4 separate regions of the Homo sapiens genome follow, and regions 2, 3 and 4 are each linked to region 1. Evidence: promoter capture Hi-C in 16 types of primary human blood cells and fetal thymus (Javierre and others, 2016). All regions are on one chromosome and are shown on one strand. The core of a region is centred on a gene start or on the middle of the fragment in contact, and the rest is flanking DNA. Distances in the headings are between cores, read along the strand shown. Region 1 holds the start of FAM83D (family with sequence similarity 83 member D). Region 2 holds the start of SLC32A1 (solute carrier family 32 member 1). Region 3 overlaps ACTR5 (actin related protein 5). Region 4 has its middle 20 kb from the start of SLC32A1.

Region 1 (2,706 bases), core at 118-2,617:
CTCACGCCTGTAATCCTAGCACTTTGGGAGGCCGAGGCGGGTGGATCACCTGAGGTCAGGAGTTCGAGACCAGCTTGGCCAACATGGAGAAACCCCGTCTCTACTAAAAATACAAAAATTAGCCGGGCGTGGTGGCGGGCACCGGTAATCCCAGCTACTTGGGAGGCTGAGGCAGGAGAGTCACTTGAACCCGGGGGACGGAGGTTGCAGTGAACTGAGATCCCACCACTTCACTCCAGCCTGGGCAAAAGAGAATCTGTCTCAAAAAAAAAAAAAAAAAAAAAAGACAAGAAAGAAAAAGCGGCAGGGCTCTCACTTTGCCACTCTCGTGTTTATCTGCTTTTTACAGCAAAAGATGCATGAAAGTAATTAGCAATAATAATTGCTTCCTAATGCCCCGTAGTTGTCTCTGGAGACCATCTTTCTGGAACTTTCCCTGCGTAAGTTCTTTGGTAATGAGTCTCCTAAGAAGCTCCTGAAAGTGGGATCTAGCGTTGGCTGACAGACAGGGAAATAGGCAATTTTCCAAGTTTGATTTTAACTGAAATTTGGAACTCAGAGTACTTCTGGTCCCTCCTTCAGGGATATGAACGTTAGGAGATGGAACCCGGGCACAATTCGCATCCTTGGGAACCGAGGCTTTCCCACTATCCCCTGCCACGAGGAGCGGCCCGGGGGATCCGGGGGAGACACGCAGAGTGGGGTGTGAGTCGGAGACCCTGGGACCACCTAGCCCGCGCGCGCTTCCGGTAGGGCGCAGAGGAGGTAGTGGCCCCGGCCCGTACTCCCAGCAGGCCTCAATTTCCCATTCTTGAAGGGGGTCTCCCGTGCGACCCAGGGCCCTGGAGGGCCGCTCACCTCTCGCGCCGAGCGGAGCTGCTGGCGCAGAGCGTCCTTGCAGCCGTAGGGGCCACCTTCGCCAGCGCCGCGGGGCTGGAAGTGCGTCTCGACACGCGTGGCGCCGCGGTAGGCGCCCTGGTAGAAGGCGGGCCAGCCAAGCTCCAACAGCGGTGGCTCCAGGTCCGACTGCTCGGGGAAGTAGGTGCCCGAAGAGCAGTCGTGCGAGGAGCCGAACGAGTCCTCGGCCGCCGCCGCCGCCGCCGCGCCCTCCTCTCCCGGCCTCTCCGCCGCGCGCAGAATGGCGTGCACCTCATCGGGGTTCAGGAAACGAGCCAGGCGCTCGCGTCGCAGGAAGGCCGCGAAGGCTTCGGGGCCGCCCGCCACCAGCTCCTCCAGAGCCAGGCGCCGTGACTCGCTGAACAGCTCGGTCGGGTTGGGCGGCCCGCACGGCGACAGGCAGGCGGCGGGCACCTCGTCCAGGCCCTCGGACAGCAGAGCCATGGCGGCGCTCGGACTCGACAGCCCTCGGACAAAAACCGGCGTGCAGTCCCGCTTTATAGGCAACCTTTGAATCAAACAGGCCCGCGCCATTGGCCGCACCTCCCCGCCTCGGCTCTCCCATTGGCTGCTTTCCTTCCAATAGCGGAGCGAGGCGGGGCGCAAGCCTCTACGGCTCCGCCCCCTGATGCGTTATTGGCTGCGATGCTGGGCTTGCTAAGAGGAATTTAAACTTGCAGGGGCGAGGCGGGCCGCAGAGCAGGGACAGAGCGGGGAGAGCCGAGCTCCTGGCCATCCCAGCGCGCCCCCTGCCGGTCGCCCCGCTGCGCGGCCGTGCAAGGCCAGGGACAGTCAGGCCTAGACAACGAGGAGAGGCAGGTGCCGACTCCCGGAGACTCTGGCCACGCTGCTCCTAGGCTCTCAGTGCTTTGGCATGGCCAACCATATCGCCTTTATCACCTGCCTTTAACCATGTATTCATTCATTCAAAGAATACCGGCTCATCGTATTAGGACTGCTCCTTTGATTACACCCTCGGGTAGTCTTCTCTCATTTCATCGATTTTTGCCTTGTAAAACCCCAACCAACCGTGGTTATACCCTACTTTCCACCTGCACCCCGGCAGCCCTACAGGGCTGAAGAAAAAACAAAAAGAGCGTAACCATGCTTACTGACTGGTCATGTTTTAAATTCATAATCCGTAAGACTGCCTGCTAGGAGGCCGGGCGCGGTGGCTCACGCCTGTAATCCCAGCACTTTAGGAGGCCGAGGAGGGCGGATCACCTAAGGTCAGGCGTTTGAGACTAGCCTGACCAACACGGTGAAACCCCGTCTCTACTAAAAATACAAAAATTAGCCAGGTGTCTTGGTGTACGCCTGTAATCCCAGATACTCGGGAGGCTGAGGCAGGAGAATCACTTGAACGCGGGAGGCGGATGTTGCAGTGAGTCGAGATAGCACCACTGCACTCCAGCCTGGGCGACAAGATCGAAACTCCATCTAAAAACAAAACAAAACAAAACAAAAGCAAACAAACAAAAAAACTGCCTGGTAGGCCGCATTTCCCTCATTCTCTCTACCTTTTCCTCTCTGACAGCTTGTCTTCCATGTCAGCAAGAACACAGAAACAGTAAGAAGGGAACGTCCACGTGCGGCCATCTAGTCTACCTTCCTGTCTGCATCTCTGCCCGTATACTGGGCATTGATGAACTGTGCCTGTGCCCATCCAACCCCAACCCCTCTGCCTGGGCATTTCCAGCCCCTCTACTACTCACCAGCATCGCTCCAGCAATCTTCTTCTTTCTCCTGGAACATCAGCTTCCCTCTTTACCGATTCATTTCTATCAGCCTACAAGCATGCTGAAATAT
Region 2 (2,863 bases), core at 76-2,575, 200 kb after region 1:
GGGAGCAGGCTGGTTCCTGTCTGCATGCATCTGTGCATGTGTGTGTGCATATGTTCAAACGAATATTCGTGTGTTTGGTATGTGCAGGTATATGCTTTTGTTTGTGGAGCTGTAGGGGTGTACGCAGGTGCATTTGGGGATAGTACTGTGGTCTATATATAGATACATGTCGTGTGCGCCTGTGCCTGCGCCTTTGTTCGTGGGAAGGGGGGCTGTGGGCATGTGGTGTGCCTGCCTATATACGTGTGCGTGTCTATGCGTGTGTGCGGGGGGAGGAGACTCCGACCTCAGCGATTTCCCCTTCTTCTTTCCTCCCAAAAATGCAGCTGTGAATCCGTTCCAGAGTCCAAGACCAAACCGTGCCCTCCAATCCTGATTTTCTTTCTTTCTCATCGCTTCCTGCTCCCTCCCCCCATTTCCTTCACTTTTGCAGTGTCTCCGGACAGGTGTCTCAGACCGAACTTCAGCCTAGCGGTCTTGCAGCTGGTGCCGTTGGGAGGGAGCGTGGGTTAGGGCGGAAAACACCGCCTGGGGGCGTAGGTCCCCGCGCAGGGCTGGGAGGGATGGAGAAAGGGAGATTCCTGGGTACAGGAGGGGGTCTCCAGGCCGAGATCACCGGGCGACTGTCGGGGGCAGAGCCCGGCACGCTGAGCTGGGAGGGGGGAGGACAGGCAGAACTGGGAATCCCGCGCTTACCTGGATGGCGTTGGTCACGTTCCAGCCTGCCTCCCACGCCGTGATTTTGGGCTTGTCGTGGCCCCCGAATTCGCCACCACCTCCCACCTGGTCCTTGGAGCCGGAGGGCGGCAGAGGAGCTCCGCTGCCTCGCTGATAATGGATGTCTCCCTCGACGGGCGCTTCAGCGCCCTCGTCCCCGCAGGGCTCTCCCTCGGCTTTCAGGATGTCCATCTGCAGGCCCTGGCGGTGCTCAAAGTCGAGGTCGTCGCAATGCGCGAAGCCCACCGCCTCCTCATCCGTGGCCGCCTGAAAACCCATCCTGGCGAACATGCCGCTCATCTTGGCCTGGGACTTGTTGGACACGGACGTGGCCACGTTGGACAGCTTGCTGCGGAGCAAGGTGGCCATGGCGGCGGTGGGGACAGCGGAAAGGACAGAAGGACCCGAGGATGCGGGGAACGCGATGCAAGAAGGCGAGGGCTGGGGGGCGCAAAGTCGCTATCTCCGCTTGCTCTCCGCGCGGCGCCCCGGGGCTCTCTGGCTCATGACCCTCGCAGCTGGCGTTCGAGGCTCTCTCAGGGCTGGACCGGGCAAGCTGGCAGCAGGTCTGGCGGAGCGGCGGCGGCGGCGGTGGTGGCTAGTGCACTGCGGAGCTGCCGCGGGGCGCGAGCTGGGCTGCGGAGGGCGGCGGCGGCGGCGGCGGCGGCAGCGGCGTCAGAGCAGCTACGCGAAGCTGGCGCGGCGCCCCCACCCGTGCGCAGCCCAATGCGCTCCCGCCCCTCGGAATCAGGCGGTGCGGGGGTGGGGGATTGGAGAGAGGAAATACCCGGAGGCAGGGGACGTGAGGAAGGGGCTAGGAGAAGAGAAAGGGGGCGCCGAGGGATTCAGACGTGAGCTGGGGGCAGAAGAAGGGCGCCCTTGGGAAGGAGGCGGGAGGGAGCGCGTGAAAGAGGGAGCGCCGAGGGCAGGGGAGGTGGGGGGGCGAAGTGCTGCATTTCTAGGGGAGGTGCTAAGCTCGCATCCTGGCCCTTCCCACCTCGCCGCCGCAGGGTGGGAGGGGGCCGGCGTGGGCTGATGCTCGCAGTCTCCCACCCCCGGACCACCCCCTCCAGGGTCCGGGAGCTGTGCAGCCCCAGATCCTCTGGCTAAGGACTGGTCTGGGCGCCCCGAAAGCCCGCAGGACTGAGTTGTCAGTCTCTCGCGGAGCGGGTCGTCTATAAGTCAGTTTCCCTGGCACCCATCCTTCGCGCGTAAACCCGGCCGCGAGTCCCCCTTGAAGGTAGAAGTGGCTGGCATGGATCGCTCCCAAGGAAGCTCAGCCTCAGGCTCAGTCACCCGGGTTCTCTCCGCCCGTCCAGGGACGCCGCGAGGGAAGCGATTGTGCGGATCGCTCGCCACCAGCCGCTCTCCAAATGCGTGCAGAATGGAGGCGAAAGGTTGGCTTTTCTCTTTCTTTTCGTTTGGGGGTCTGGAAGAAGGCAGGACTCTATGAGGACACCTCTCGTCAGCCTCCTAGCGGGTCTGCGAATGCCCACGCCGAGAGGGGCGCAGACGGGGCCAGGCGCGGAGGAAAGAAGGGCTCGCGGCGCTGCAAGGCGGAGGAAGCAGAGGCTCGCGGTGCGCTGGGGCCCTGCTCCGACGGCCGCCTCCAGGCTGTGAAAGCTTGGGCTGTTTGTGTTGATTGGGGTACGGGTGTGTGAGCGCGAGTAAGGGAGAGACCCAGAGACAAAGACCGATGCTGTATCAGACTCTGCTTGAGGTTGGATCAGTGTGGCCTCTGAGAATGAGGTTTGGTAACCGCGTGTGTTCTGTGTCTGTGTGGTTTTGCGCGCATTCCAGTGTGTGTGCCAGAGCTAGTGTGTTGGATTACGTATGTGTTCCCGAATGGGGTTGCCTGCGTTCGTGCCTGTGTTAGTCCCTTTGTAGTAGTCTCCGTGAGGGTCCGCTGCTCTGAATGGGTCCCTGCGTAAGTCCCCAGCTGATGTCCTGGCCGGGCTCCTCCTGAGCAGTAAACCGCAGGGCTCCACCTGGCAGTCCCAGCCTGAATGGAGAAGTAGCGGCTGTGACTGGAAGTGGGGGCGGGGGCGGACGGAAAAACCGAAGGAAACAAAAAAGGAAGCAGCTCCCCATCTCCCCTCTCTCGAGGCCCTTTCTCCCTGGGAACCCCAGCCACTCTTTCTCTGCA
Region 3 (2,901 bases), core at 52-2,551, 170 kb after region 1:
GCCCGTCCCTGTGTCTGCTATTACCTGCACATATAGCAGTCGGTCCAGACGCTCCTGATCCAGCTGCAGCTTCTCCTCCCGCCGCCGGGCATTGAGCTCCTGCAGCCGCCGCAATTGCTGCTGCCGCCTTTCTTGTTTCTCCTCAGAGGTCAGAGTGCTGCCCAGGAGCTTGCTGGAAAATGGGAGCTGCATCTTGTGGACATTATTCTCATAATAATCAGGACACCGCCATTTGTGTAATTCTTCAAAGAAACAATTTTGAAAGTTATGAAATGGAAACACTATTAACACAACAATTAAAGTCAATACCAGCTGGGCGCAGGGGCTCACGCCTGTAATCCCAGCACTTTGGGGAGCCGAGGTGGGCGGATCACGAGGTCAGGAGATCAAGACCATCCTGGCTAACACAGTGAAACCCTGTCTCTACTAAAAATACAAAAAAATTAGCCATGCGTGGTGGCGGGCACCTGTGATCCCAGGTACTCGGGAGGCTCGCCCTGTCACCTAGCTGGAGTGCAGTGGTGCGATCTCGGCTCACTGCAAGTTCTGCCTCCCGGGTTCACGCCATTCTCCTGCCTCAGCCTCCTGAGTAGCTGGGACTACAGACGCCTGCCACCATGCCCGGCTAATTTTTTTGAATTTTTAGTAGAGATGGGGTTTCCCCATGTTACCCAGGATGGTCTTGATCTCCTGACCTCGTGATCCACTCGCCTCGGCCTCCCAAAGTGCTGGTATTACAGCTATGAGCCCCCATGCCCGGCCGACTCCATTGTTTTTTTTAAAGTCAGTACCAGCATTTCAGACATAGGTCAGATGGAGAAAATACACTCCATCCAATCCCTGAATCCACTCAATCAACTAAAAGCAGCTACCAAACCTGGACATAATGCCAGCAGGCCTGTTCTAAAAGAACTGCTAAGTAAGTTCTTCAGCGAGAAACAACACCAGAAGGAAGCTTGGAGCATCAGGAATGAAGGAAGAGCAACAGAAATGATAAAAATCTGGTTAAACATAACAGACTAATCTCCTTACGAGTTCTTTAAAACCTATTTGACAACTGAAAGTAAAAATCACAACACTGTCTGATGGGTTTCCAATGTATACAGATGAAATAAATAAGACAACTTTAAGATAAACCGGGCGAAATAAAGGAGTCTGTACATTGCTAACATTTCCACATTCCCCTTGAAGTGGTAAATACAGAATCTAAGTAGACTGTGAAAAGTTGTGTTTACTGTAATCTCTAAAGCAACCACTAAAAACTACAATAAAAAGGTAGAGTAAAAAACACAACAGATAAAATACTTTAAAAAAAAAAAAAAAAAGCTCGAATAACCTAAAAGGAGGCAGGAGAGAGAAACAGAGGAACAATAAACAGAAGGAACAAAAACAAATAATAAAATGGTGAACCTAAATCCAAGCATATGAATAATTAAAACTAATTATAAATGGTTTAGTCTAACAATTAAATAGAGGTTGACTGAATAGATTTTTTTTAAAAATCATCCAACTACCAAGAAATTCACTTTGAATATAATGATATAGGTAGATTAAAAGTAGAAGGACGGAAAGACATACCATGCAAGCACATGACCCAGCAATCTATTTACTCTGGAGAAATGAAAACAAGTTCACCCAAAAGCTTGTCTCTATCCCAAGCCCAGGCAATCTTTCCCTCACTTCTTCTCTATCACTATGGTTTTATCTTTTCAAAATGTCACATAAATGGAATCAAATAGTATGTACCTTTTGAAACTTTTTTTTTTTTTTACTCAACATCATGCCTTTGAGATTCATTCAAGTTGTTGAGTGTATCAGTAGTTTGTTCCTGTTTATTGTGGATAAAAACAGGATATGATTATAAAGAGAAAGCATATGTAATCAACACCACAATCAGGATACGGAAGAGTTCATCATCCCAAAAAATTCCCTCATGCTCTCTCTTTATAATCATATCATAGAATTGTAAAAGAAAAAGTTAACTAAAAAAAAAGAGTCAATACCAGAGCAACTGGAGAACAGAGAAGTGGGAGCACGGAGAGCTGTGTGCCTCAGCCGTGTCTTCTGGCAAGCCTCTAACTCTCCGGACTGAGTGTCCTCATCAATTATTTATTTCCCTATCTGTCTCCCGCAACTTCTTTGTATCCCAGGAATAACAGATGTTTAATAAATGCTTTCTAAAGTTAATTAAAACACAGCTCTTCACACATGAAACGTATACTTAAAAATGGTTAAAATGGCAAATTTATGTTATATGGTTTTCACAATTAAAAAAAAAAGATGCAGTTTTTGTCCTTCAGGAGCTCATTATTGGTCAGCTGAGATCAGTACCCTCAATGACAACAAGCAAATCCATTCTTGGAATAGAGTTGTATTCACAGTGGCATTGTCCGTAGTCCTTTGGTTTTATATGAACTATTTAAATTCACGAGGAAGATATTTTCATCACATTCATGTGACAATAGCAACTAAAACTCATACTTTAATTTGAAGTAAAATACAACCAAAAGTCCAAGACAAGTTTGAAAAGAAAAAGAGGTGTTTCTGCAGCATAGATGTTATTATAAGGGTATAATAAAACAATTTCAATTGTTTTCTAGCTTAAGATATTTTTAGTCTGATATGTTCTGCTCACTCTTAAAAATATTTAATATCTGGAAAAGCTGAAAGTTGTGCAATTCCAAGTTCTGTATTAAAGGCAAGTTATAAAAGCTACCATTTGTGAAGGGAACCTATACAACATAAGTTATCAGTTTACTGAATAGTTTAAGAAAGGGAATACAAAAAGGGGAAGGAGGTGCTTAAAAAGTGAGCAAGCAAAGAATCATGCTGGCAATAATTTAAGGAATACAAGGTAGACAACACCCAAAAGCTGCAGGCAAACATCCTCTTGGATACCTT
Region 4 (2,700 bases), core at 90-2,589, 220 kb after region 1:
AATGCCATGGACTGGTCATGCTGTCTTCAGTCCTTCTGGGTTGGAGATGAATGCTCAGGGTTAATTGACACCTCTGGTATTGGAAGCAAATATGGAATCTCAAACTAGAGACTTACAAGGACCCATAGGATACAGGTGTAAATTTACCCAATCGAAACCAGAGCTTACAGAGTCCTTCCTGCACCAAAAGTTGGAAGATTGGCCTGGACTTGAGAGGGGAATTAAAGGACCCCAAGAAGCTGCTACGTACTTAAGACCTGGAGTGGTCCTGAGCAGAACTGGCAGGGAGCTCAAAGGGGACAATGGGATATATCTGGCCCCAGAGGTCTTCAGTTGAGCCCCCTTGCCTGTGTGGAACACCCATCTGCTCTGCCATTGCTGGTTGAGGGATGTCTGGACTCACATCCTCCATCACCTTGGAACTTGCATTTTGGACAAGGCTGATGTCCTGAAAATTCTGCCACTGAGAATTGTTCTGATGAGGACACCTGAGAGAAAGGCTGAAGTTGGAGGCTTTTCCTCTGCAACCCTAAGGCCAAGGTCTCCCATGGCCCTGTCTTGGGCCACAGAGAACAACCGTCTCATCAGCCCTGGACCTCTATGACTCAGGTCCTCAATACAAAATTGTCAAACTGCAACTGACTAGTCATGAACCACCCAGAGCTGGGTCTTGGAGGATCCTGAATTATCCTGACAAGCCAGGCACTGTCAGGTCTGAGCAAAAAGTACATTCCCCTGTCACTGCTATGGTTAGAAAAATGGCAGAGGTTTTCTGTTTGATCTGTTTCGTGACAATGATTATGGCAATTTGGTGATGCTTTCATGAAATGTCAGTCACGTGCTAACCGTTTTGTGTTCATTATTTCACTGGGCTCTCATGACACCCCTGCCACGCAGGTATTCATATTCCATTTTACAAAGGAGAAAACTGGCCGGGTGTGGTGGCTCACTCCTGTAATCCCAGCACTTTGGGAGGCTGAGGTGGGTGGATCATTTGAGGTCAGGAGTTCGAGACCAGCCTGACCAACATGGTAAGACCCCATCTCTACTAAAAATACAAAAATTAGTTGGGTGTGGTGGTGTGTGCCTGTAATCCCAGCTACTAGGGAGGCTGAGGCAGGAGAATCGCTTGAACCCAGGAGGCGGAGGTTGCAGTGAGCTGAGATAATGGCACTGCACTCCAGCCTGGGTGACAGAGTGAGATTCTGCCTCAAAACAAAAAACAAAAACAAAACAAAACAACAACAACAACGAAACAAAGGAGAAAACCAAGGCTCATAGAGTTGAAATGGCTTGCCCAAGGTCACATAGCTAGTAGGTGTCACCACCGAGTTTCAACCCCAGGCCTGTCTGACTAGGAGCTCAAGAGCACTACAGCCTCATCTCACTCCCAGGCATGTGCCTCGTTGTCATCCCCCAGGCATCTGAAAGTCCATCCTGCCCCTCTGCATAGGGCACATGCTAATGTGTCACTGGGAACATCCTGGGCCACTTCTCATCCACTGAAAGGGGAAAACTCATGGCGAAGGAGTGGGGGATGTCAAGTGTGGTAGGAGCTGGAGAAGGCAGAAGGCATGTGTGGAAGATAGAGCTGGAAGGTAAGATAAAGTTGCATTGTGTTCTAAACATCAGGCATAGGGAGCCACGGACTGGAGCAAGTTCATGGAGGTGGGCTCACTTCAGGTAGCTTAGGTGTAGAGTTATGTGAGGGAGACATAGTTCCCCAGAGAAAGTGTTGTGGCTAAGAGAATAGGGGAAAGGGATGTCCCAATTTGAAGGGGCCTCAGAAGAGTTCTTGGAAGGGATGACACTTGGGTTGAGTCTTGAGGAAATAGAAGGAGTTGTTTAGATAAAAAGGGTGAAGGAGGGGCATTCTAGCAAGGTCCAGAGATGGGAAAGACCTGGTGCATTTGGGCAACTGCAACTGCAAGCCTTTTGATGTGGCTGGAGCCTGGGGCAGGCCGGAGAGGGGAGCAGGGACTCCTGTCCATAAGGGGGTCAGGCAGCTAAGGTTAAAGAAGAGGAGGGGTGAGAATTTGGGAGCTGGGCTGCTACAGGGCCAGACACTTCAGATCTGGAAGGGCCTGATGGGCAGGGGCTCAGTGTCCCAGAAGTCTCCTCCAGGGCATGCAGCAGGGTGGTGGAGTGAGGACAGGAGCAGGGTTTGCAGGAGTGACAGTGCCATCAACCCACCATATAGGGTGGGCCAGGGCATCGGGCCAAAGGGAGACTGCCCCCAGGAAAAGACGGGCCTGGGAAAGTCAGCTTTTTATACTCCATGAATCTGTGATCTAGATTTTGGTCAGTTCATGTCATTATCACCCCCATCATGTTACTAACACCAGCATCTCTTAGCTGAATTCTGGCCAATGTCTCCAGTCTGGACTCCCTGCTTTTGCCCCAACCCCTCCTGCAATCTCCACACAATACAGAATCTGGAGTGAGGCTGTTATGACATGGGTCAGATCCTGGCCTCCCCTGCTCAAAGACCTTCAGTGGCTCCCATCTCATTCAGAGCAATGGCCAAAGACCTTCAGGGTGGCCCACCAGGCCTTGTGGGATCTGCCTCCCCTACTCTGACCTCATTTCTTATCTTTCTCTTCATACCCAGCTTGCTGCTACTTGTCATTCTGGTTCTCTTCCTGCTTCAGGAATTGGCACTGACTATCCCCCTGCCTAGAACCCTCTCCTCCAGCATCC

Evidence for each region. Contacts are between HindIII fragments. The CHiCAGO score rates a contact against its expected background, and 5 or more counts as called.
Region 2: a contact is called between the fragment with the promoter of SLC32A1 here and the fragment with the promoter of FAM83D in region 1, in 2 of 17 cell types (activated CD4 T cells and total CD8 T cells). The highest score is 8.2, in activated CD4 T cells.
Region 3: a contact is called between a fragment that was not itself captured here and the fragment with the promoter of FAM83D in region 1, in 7 of 17 cell types (total CD8 T cells, total B cells, activated CD4 T cells and 4 more). The highest score is 8.5, in total CD8 T cells.
Region 4: a contact is called between a fragment that was not itself captured here and the fragment with the promoter of FAM83D in region 1, in 1 of 17 cell types (total CD8 T cells). The highest score is 5.9, in total CD8 T cells.

The regions. Positions count from the first base shown.
Region 1 is chr20:38,925,078-38,927,783 of GRCh38, reverse strand. FAM83D (family with sequence similarity 83 member D) reads right to left here and starts at 1,367. Exons shown (of 4, transcript NM_030919.3): 1 at 859-1,367. The coding sequence starts at 1,341. RefSeq lists an enhancer at 1,180-1,279 and a silencer at 1,390-1,749. The HindIII fragment of the contact is 27,857 bases long and covers 1-2,706 here.
Region 2 is chr20:38,722,948-38,725,810 of GRCh38, reverse strand. It overlaps SLC32A1 (solute carrier family 32 member 1), which reads right to left and starts at 1,325. Exons shown (of 2, transcript NM_080552.3): 1 at 697-1,325. The coding sequence starts at 1,086. The HindIII fragment of the contact is 3,119 bases long and covers 1-2,342 here.
Region 3 is chr20:38,752,298-38,755,198 of GRCh38, reverse strand. ACTR5 (actin related protein 5) reads right to left here. Exons shown (of 9, transcript NM_024855.4): 3 at 2,899-2,901; 4 at 25-242. Among named protein-coding and RNA genes, the nearest start is that of ACTR5, 5.3 kb to the right of the region's middle. The HindIII fragment of the contact is 687 bases long and covers 958-1,644 here.
Region 4 is chr20:38,703,078-38,705,777 of GRCh38, reverse strand. No RefSeq gene overlaps it. Among named protein-coding and RNA genes, the nearest start is that of SLC32A1, 20 kb to the left of the region's middle. The HindIII fragment of the contact is 3,871 bases long and covers 1-2,700 here.